2 separate regions of the Homo sapiens genome follow, and region 2 is linked to region 1. The links are contacts of gene promoters, found by promoter capture Hi-C in blood cells and fetal thymus (Javierre and others, 2016). All regions are on one chromosome and are shown on one strand. Each heading gives the region's core, a stretch centred on a gene start or on the middle of the fragment in contact. The rest is flanking DNA. Distances are from core to core; before and after follow the strand shown.

What was found. Contacts are between HindIII fragments. The CHiCAGO score rates a contact against its expected background, and 5 or more counts as called.
Region 2: a contact is called between a fragment that was not itself captured here and the fragment with the promoter of JAM2 in region 1, in 1 of 17 cell types (non-activated CD4 T cells). The highest score is 5.1, in non-activated CD4 T cells.

The regions. Positions count from the first base shown.
Region 1 is chr21:25,637,859-25,642,290 of GRCh38, forward strand. JAM2 (junctional adhesion molecule 2) reads left to right here and starts at 1,400. Exons shown (of 10, transcript NM_021219.4): 1 at 1,400-2,030. The coding sequence starts at 1,964. RefSeq lists enhancers at 1,033-1,172, 1,910-2,410, 2,313-2,382 and a silencer at 1,393-1,582. The HindIII fragment of the contact is 2,383 bases long and covers 1,209-3,591 here.
Region 2 is chr21:26,703,097-26,707,519 of GRCh38, forward strand. No RefSeq gene overlaps it. Among named protein-coding and RNA genes, the nearest start is that of CYYR1, 130 kb to the left of the region's middle. The HindIII fragment of the contact is 4,185 bases long and covers 34-4,218 here.

The DNA.
Region 1 (4,432 bases), core at 150-2,649:
CTCATCTGCAAAGTGGGAATGATAACATTTCCTCTTTTATGGAGTTGTTGGGGGATTAGATATTGCGTTATTCAGACTCCATCACTGAGAAAGCATGCAATAAAAATAGCTGTTATTATTTTCTGTCCTCCTGTAACATTTACCATGTGGTATCAGGCATCTTTCCTGATAAGACTCTGTCTCCCCTCAAGACTGTGAGCTTGTTAGCAAGAAAGCCTCTATCTTGTTCATGGTTGTCCTTCAGCATCCAGCACATTGTTGCCATTTGTCAAATGCCTTGGCTGGGTGGCAAATAAATAACTTAGTCAGTTACTCACATAGGATTGCATAGAATTTTTTTAAGTATGACATTTTTGTGTATATTTTTAGGGAGGAGTAAAAGACATATAGCTGTAGCAAGAATTAGAAAAAAGAAGATGCCAACAACTTTTCTTTTTAAGCATCAAATCCTTCTCATTACTGCCCAGAAAAACTGGCATAAGCTGTTGTTAAATCTGTGCCCCTTCTCCTCGGTTGACTGGAGTACGAGTTTTAACATTTTGCCATTTTGACTTTCCTTTCTGGGTCCCCTGGGTCCTCTCCTCCCACCCCCTCCCTGGGTACTAAGTTTTCATCACTGTCACCACGGCAACAGCAAGGATGCCTCATTCCTCACAGTTCTGCACAGCTAAACTCTGGTCGCCTTTGTCCACTGAGCTAGCTGAATTCTTTTTAAATACACCACTAAATCAACTATCTGCTGTACAGAACTTCATCCATTATTCAACCTTTAAAAAAAAACAAAAACAAAAACAAACAAAAAAACAAAAGAAAAAAACTGATGTATACTAATTTCTTCTCCTGGGAATGGCCTTTTTCCAGACCTGCCAATACTCTTGAATACACCATACATTTTTGGTCCCTAGGAACAAATATAAAAATTGCCAGTGTACGTGCGTCCAATGTAAGTGTGGTGCAATTTTAAAGCACGCAACAGAGCATTCATAATGGGTTTCCCTTTTAAAAGCACAGTAGACCAAAAATAAACCTGACAAAGGGCAGCTGTAGAGTTTTAACACGTGGAAAACTCCACAAGCAGCAGTTATGTAACTTGAAAGAAACATGATAAATATTTCACACCATTAGATGAACTTCCAACTCTGACACTGAAAAAAAAGCAAAGAACAAGAACGCGAGACAAATGCACCTCAAATCTCCAAGGAGCAAAAAGCTTAAACTGAGAAGGGACCAAGGCTGTACTAAAATCTGAGACCTGACTTCCAGCACGAGTCTTGATTGCTTTTTTTTTTCTCGAGTTCGAGGCGGAGCCCGCGAACCCCATCTCCTCAGAGCGCCACCCCCTCAGCTTCGCCCGTTGGGCAGAATTTTCCAAATATCTCCACCCCTAGGCTGAAAAGCCAGAAAGAAGTTTTGAGCCAACGAGGGGAAGAAAGGAGTTGGGGCAAAACAGGAGGCGTTTCCCTACCCGCATACATCCCCGTCCCCGAGACACCCAATCCCCCCACCCCCAGCCTGCCCGCGCCTCCCGCCCCCAGCTCCTCGCCCTGGGGACAGCTGGCAGCCCCGCGCGGACCAGACACAAAGCCGATCAATCCCGGAGGCGTGGGGGCGGAGGGACGACCCGCCGGGGCTTTCCCGGGCGCTGCTCTCCTCCTGCTGCCCCCTCGCTAGGACCCGGCGGACGCCTCGTCTGGTTTTCACGCCCTCTAGCCCCTACCCCCACACCCCCAAAACAGAACAGACCCCCATCCCTGGGCTGGAGGACCCGCCTCTTGGCAGCCAGCTGAGAAGGCGCCCCGGGGAGGGGGAAACTGACATCCCATCTAGAGCCGTCCCTCCTCTTCCTCCCCTCCCGACTCTCTGCTCCTTTCCCGCCCCAGAAGTTCAAGGGCCCCCGGCCTCCTGCGCTCCTGCCGCCGGGACCCTCGACCTCCTCAGAGCAGCCGGCTGCCGCCCCGGGAAGATGGCGAGGAGGAGCCGCCACCGCCTCCTCCTGCTGCTGCTGCGCTACCTGGTGGTCGCCCTGGGCTGTAAGTTGCTCGGGTTCCTCTACCCTTCCTGCCTGGACCAGCCTGCCCCCACCCTCCAGCCCCCCACGGGGCGCTGGCTGACAGTGTCTGGGCGGCTCTGGGCCGAGGTCGCCGCGGGGCGTCTGACCTTGCGCCCAGGCGAGCGGGAAACCCAGGGTGCCCGCGAGCGGACGCTGGGAGCAAGGGAGCGCGAGGTCGTGGGTTTCTTGTGAATTGCGTCTGATTTTGTCAGTTCTAGATACAGAAAATTAAGGGTTCCCACTAGCAGGTTCTCATCTGTTTGCAAAGTTGGGGTAAGTTTTCAGACAGAGGGACGTGATTCGAATGCAAAACTCACTACCCACTGGTAAGATGCTAAGACCCCAAGAAAGATGGCATCACTGGGAGGCGGGCGCCGGCCACACTTTGAGTCCCCGGGGAGGGGGCAGCGTCCGCGTGGTCTGGGCTCTGTAGCGTCCCAGCTGAGCCGGCGATATGCAGCGCACTTGTGGGGCGGAGGTGGAGGGAATTCGTGGCTGCTGAGCCAGAATTACTTTTATCCTCTCCACCTGCACATCTACATTCACTTAGAGAAGTCTGGTCTGGGGACTCTAGCCAGCTGCTCTGTCCTCAGGGGACATCCAACGGGACGATTGTTAGAAAGATTCAGAAGCCACATGATCCAGTAGCTGGGGAGACGTCCCAAAGCCAATTTCACCGGATGATTTTAAACAGGATTTTCACGGATTCTGGACTCATGAGATTTGAAATCCTGGGAACGTTGCCGTTATTTTGTTTTCTTCGCGTTAACTTTTTAGGAAAATGGAGGAAATTACAATAGACTAAGCAATGCAGTTCTACTTTTGCTTTTTCTTTTTTCTCTCACCTTTTTTGTTTTGCTTTTTTCCCTTCCTTCCTTCCTCCCTTCCTTTCTCTTTCTTCTTTCTTTCTCTCTCTCTTTCTTTCTGTCTCTCTTTCTTTCTTTTGTAAAATGAGTTATTGTTGCTATTCACGTTCTGGTAAAGTAACACTTATAATACTTAACCTGCGGGACGAGTGTCTAATACCACAATACAATGATATTTTCTCACGCCCTCGCTGCCCAAGTGATCATCGCACAGCTCAAGTGATGTGAGCCACGTCCCTTTGTGGAGGAGGAAGGTGCACATTGTCTCAGGCAAGGGACATGTACTGACCAATATTATATAAAGTCAAACCAGAAAGCCAAAGTTTCACAATGAAACCCTTGTGCAATTCTGAAATATCAATTGGTATCATATGGAACACACAGAAGAAAAAAAATGCACTCATGCTAAAAGGCAACAGAGAGGTAGGCTGGAGAAATCGTTAACAGAACAACTGAGAAAGTTATGTATTCTGCTGAAATTCTAAATTTCAAATAGAAAAGAGTGTGCCTTTTAGTGTAGAATTGTCACTAATTAAAAACAGAAAATCGTTCTGCTGTGCTATTCCTATTGAATCACCAACATAGAAACAATACACCCCAAGTCTGAAATTGTAGTGGAGAAACAACCAAGAGGCGAACAAAAGCATAAATGAATGGGGCTGAGTGACCTCTTCAAGCTTTAGGTAAATATAACACATTGTCTCTGCTAAACTTGATTCCTATAGGGGATGTATTTGGAAGTGTTGTGGGGACTTTTCTATATTGTTCCTGGGATACTAAAAGATCTGGCATTGCAAGAGTGTTTTCTTTGTATGTGGGTGTTTTTTTTTTTATGTTTAAAACAATTTTAGAACAGTTTGGATTTAAATAAAAATTCCAACGCTAGTATAGAGAGTTCTCATATACTCCACACCCAGTTTCCCACATTGTTAATATCTTACATTAGTATGGTACACTTTATTCAAATTTCCTTCATTCTTACCTAATGCCTTTTCTATTCCAGGATGCCATCCAGGCTACCATATTACATTTAGTTGTCCTGATTCCTTAGGTTCTTCTTGGTTGTAACAGTTTCTTAGGCTTCCCTTGCTTTCTCTTACTATAATGGGTTTGAGGAGTTCTGGTCAAGTATCTGGTAGAATGACTGCGAATTGCTGTTTCTCTGATATTTTTCTCATAACTAGACTGGGGTTATAGGTTTTTTGGAGGAAGATCAGAAAGTGGTAAGGGGCCTAGGTAAAGTGACATTTTCATCACATTATCTCCAGGGAACATACCGTACACATGACTTATTGCTGTTGATGTGAACCTAGGTCACCTGTAATCATACTCCTAATGTAGTGCATACCAGTTTTCTCCACAGATTACCTACCCTTTTTTCTTCATTTCCATACTAGATTTTTTTGGAAGGAAGTCACTACATGCAACCCACACTTCTTCAGGAAGGAGAGTTATGCTCCATCTCCTTGAAGGCGGAGTATCTTCATAAATTATTTGGAGCTCTTCTGCATGGGAG
Region 2 (4,423 bases), core at 876-3,375, 1.1 Mb after region 1:
TTTGGGTCAAAGCCGTTCAACAAGTCTCTAGCAAGCTTCAAACTTTTCCGCATCTTCCTGTCTTCTTCTGAGCCCTCCAAACTGTTCCAACCTCTTCCTGTTACCCAGTTCCAAAGTCTTTTCCACATTTTGGGGTATCTTTACAGTAGTGCCCACTACCAGTACCAATTTACTATATTAGTCCATTTTCATACTGCTATGAAAAAATACCCGAGGATGAGCAATTTATACAGAAAAGGAGGTTTAATGGACTAACAGTTCCACATGGCTGGGCAGACCTCACAAGCATGGTAGAAGGCAAAGGAGGAGCAGAGGCTTACACGGCAGCATGCAAGAGAGTTTGTCCAGGGGAACTGCCATTTATAAAACCAGCAGATCTCATGAGACTTATTTACTATTATGAGAACAGCATGGAAAAAACCTGCCTCTGTGATTCAATTACCTCCCACTGGGTCCCCCCCACAACACATGGGGATTATGGGAGCTAAAATTCAAAATGAGATTTGGGTGGGGACACAGCCAAACCATATTACATAGTATTCAGGCTTGTTTTAGGAGTTAGAAAAAGAGGAAGAGGGAACTGATATGTATGTTGTCAGCTCAGCTCCCAAGAAGCACAATTCTGTAGAATATGCCAAAGACATCACAAGGTTAGCAGTTCAATTCTTCATACAAATGGATGCCATAATTTAGCGCCTTTTTTTTAACCAGCCAGTAAAAACTCTCACTTGCAACACAAAGACAATCTTCAAGGCATGCAGTTGCCTTCTATTTCTAATAATTTCTGAAACATGGTAGTGTATTCACGATTTTATTTCAGATTCCATAACTGAAAATCATAACAATAGAATAGAAAGTTCATTTTCACACAATGCCTAGAATTAAATAATGGCAAATTAACTAAATATATAGAGCAAGCCCAAAGAAGAGTAAGAAAAATACTAGACAATAACAATAATGAAAACAGTGCTATGTGTGATGCATTGTGTTGAGATCTTTATACATGTTGTATGGGTTTCCCATTGCTGGTGTAACAAATTACTACAAATTTGATAGCTTAAAATGACACAAATTTATTATCTTACAGTTCTGGGGGCTAGAAGTCTATAATGGTTACAGGGTTGTGTTCCTTCTGGAGGATCTAGGGGGGAATCTGTTCTCTTGCCTTCTTCAGCCTCTCAAAGCTACCCCCATTCCATGGCTCATGGGCCCTTACACACTCTGACCTCTGCTTTAATCATCACACCTCATTCTCTGAACTTGACCCTTCAGCCTCCCTTTTATAAGGGAGGGTCCAATTCAGAGACCATTTTACAATTCACATGGAAGTCTTGTGAATTGAATGGACTCACCCAGATAATCCAGGATACTTTCCCCATCTCAAGATCCCTACCTTAATACCGAAGTCCTCTTTTTCTTGTAACATATTCCCATGTCTGGGGATTGTGACATGGATGTCTGTGGGGACCATTATTTTACCTACCACACATGGATATTGTGGAAATGATGTATTATTTCTGGCCCTGCTGTATATCCATTTTGACCTTTGTTACCTATTGCTTTGAAATTCTCTTTTCAATATTAGGGGAGGGGAGTAAGCCAACTTAATTACTGGATATTCAGGGAACAGGAATGATACTACTTTACCAAGATCTTTGAACTCCATCCCAACAAATCTTTCTTCCACGAATCTAACACATCACAACACTGATTCCAACATAAAAGGATTAATTTTAATTTCCTTTTCCATTCAATTCCAACATGCATGTTTCTTGCAAAGGTGCAAATGAGCTGTGAAATGGTAGGATTACTAGAAAACATTTCTGAGAGAAGCAACATTCTGAAGAATTGATTCACAGGGAAGATAATAAAATTATGGCTACTTAAGGGGAATATATTTCTACTTGACAGACAATGGGATTGTAACTATTGAATTATCTCTGAGAAGAAAGATCATTACAGGGAAATCATGACAAGATGATGTCTTTCAGCATCCTGCCCACCATCTTACATCAGTACAGCTGTGCTTTAACTTAGAGACATGGTATTCATGCTGCTTTTGGGGAAAAATAAAGCATAAAATTACCTAGAATCCTTTGTTATGAGGTGTCATTTTCTATTATGCTTTGTACACTGACATTTCACAATAATAAAATTCTAAGTAGTCATGCCTCTGCCTTCAGGGTAGCTAAACCATGATTGAATGAAATTTACCTACTAAAGTCTGGTTTTCTGAATAAAAGAGGTCAGGACATAGACCCGTACTCTCCAAATTTCATGTTCTAGTAAAATCATTTAAATGAGATGTAGTTGTAACATATGAAAATAACTCTATGTTTCCATTTTGTGTTACAACAATGGATTTTGAATCTCATATTTCAGACCTCAGTCACAAAGATAATTTTATACATTTTTGTAATTATGACTGGGGCCTTGCCCAGGCTAATTAACCTAGTTTCTCTTCTTCTACTAAAGGCCAGATCTTCACAAGTGTCCTGGGACACTCTGCCTCTCCTCTCCTCAGGGACTTTAACTCTCGAGTTATTATGTCTTGATCATGCATCTTTAAATTCTCCCTCTCAGCTGGATAATTTTCTTTAGGAGGCACATAACCTGCACTATCACCAACATTAAAAATTAAAACAAAACTAAAAGATAAACTTTCCTTTGATGCCTATCTTTCCAATACAAATTTTCTCCATTCCTTTATAGCCAAATGCTGTCAAAGGATTGTCTATACCCACAGTGTCTACTCTCTTTTGTTCCATTCAGCATTTCTTTGTCACTATCATACACACTTTAGACAATAAGAAAAATATAGAGAAAATTTAGTAGTAACTTGTGTAATTCCTATCCACTTTTGTCAAATCCCAAAACTTTGGGAAATTTGTTTCACAATTTTTAAAAGTAAAATAACTGGTTAAAATAAACCCCTCTCTAGCCCCCAAATCCCATTCCAAGGTATCCGTGATATTCTGAATTTGTATCTACTGCTTATTATCAAGGTATTAATAAATAAGACATAGGGTGTATTAGGCCATTATTGCATTGCTATGAAGAAATACCTGAGATTGGATAATTTACATTTTTTACAGAGGAGGTTTAATTGGCTTGTAGTTCTGTAGGCTGTATAAGCATGGCACCAACATCACTTGGCTTCTGGGGAGGTCTCAGGGAGCACTTACTCATGGCAGAAGGTGAAGCAGGAGCAGGCACATCACATGGCAAAAGAAGAAGCAAGAGAGAGTTAGAGCAAGGTGCTCTACACTTTTAAGCAACCAGATCTCTCAACAACTCACTCACCACTGTGAGGAGAGCACCAAGGAGCTGGTGCTAAACCACTTACAAGAAATCCACCCACATGATCCAATCACCTCCCACCAGGCCTCACCTCCAATACTGGGGATTACAATTCAACATGAGATTTGGGTGGGGACACATATCCAAACTATATCAACTATATTGTAGGGATATTACACAGTTCTTAAATCTCATGTAAATGGCATTCTTCTGCAGCTTCCTTTGTTCACTTAACAATATGTTTTTGTGATTTTTTTCCATGATGATGATGATATCTATCTATCTATCTATCTATCTATCTATCTATCTATCTCTGGCTTACTCATTTTCCACTGCTGTATAGTTTTCTATTGTTTGAATTTGTGATAATATACTTATGCTTTCTCCTCTAGAATAATATACAGGTTGTTATTAATTTTGCTGTATGAAAACAAACCATGCTGCAAAAAAAGTTCTTGTAAATTTTCTTAGGCATTACTCTAGTGAGAAGAATTAACAGGTTGTAGAATATGTGTGCATTCAAGTTTACTAATCAACTTAACATGACATTGCAAAGTACCTTTCCAAGGTGAAAACACTTAGGTTATTGTCTTCCTTGAGACTACAAAACTCACCATGTTTCCCCTGCTATTTTTAATTTTGGATTGAGAAATTATCTTCATCCTGGCTTTATCAGTGAGAATTCTCTGCTGCCAGAATGGAGGGTGTGTCAGGTACTCAAGTGTATCATCCGCCAGAAACAATTTTTATGTTAATTTCCCAAATTTCTTAGTTTAGTAAATTCATATCCCTAAATCCACAATATAGTGATTATAAATTCTCAGGTGAGATCCCTCCCTCCCCCAAGACCCATTAGAGACAGGCAAGATTTCTTGTTGTTACATATTTTTCTCCTAATCCATGTGTTCCATGAGGGGAAGCTTTTTGAGGATCATTGCATTATGCAATTTTGGGTTTTATTTTCAACTCACTTTACCATCTTCATAGCCTTCTCTTTTGTTCCTGTGTGGTTTTCCAGACTAAGCCCTGTTGTTACTGAAACTGGCAAGCTCACTGCCAGGGCAGCGACAGGATGCATCTGTGTTTGCCTCCTAGGTATTTCCCTGGCCTTCTCAGAAATTAG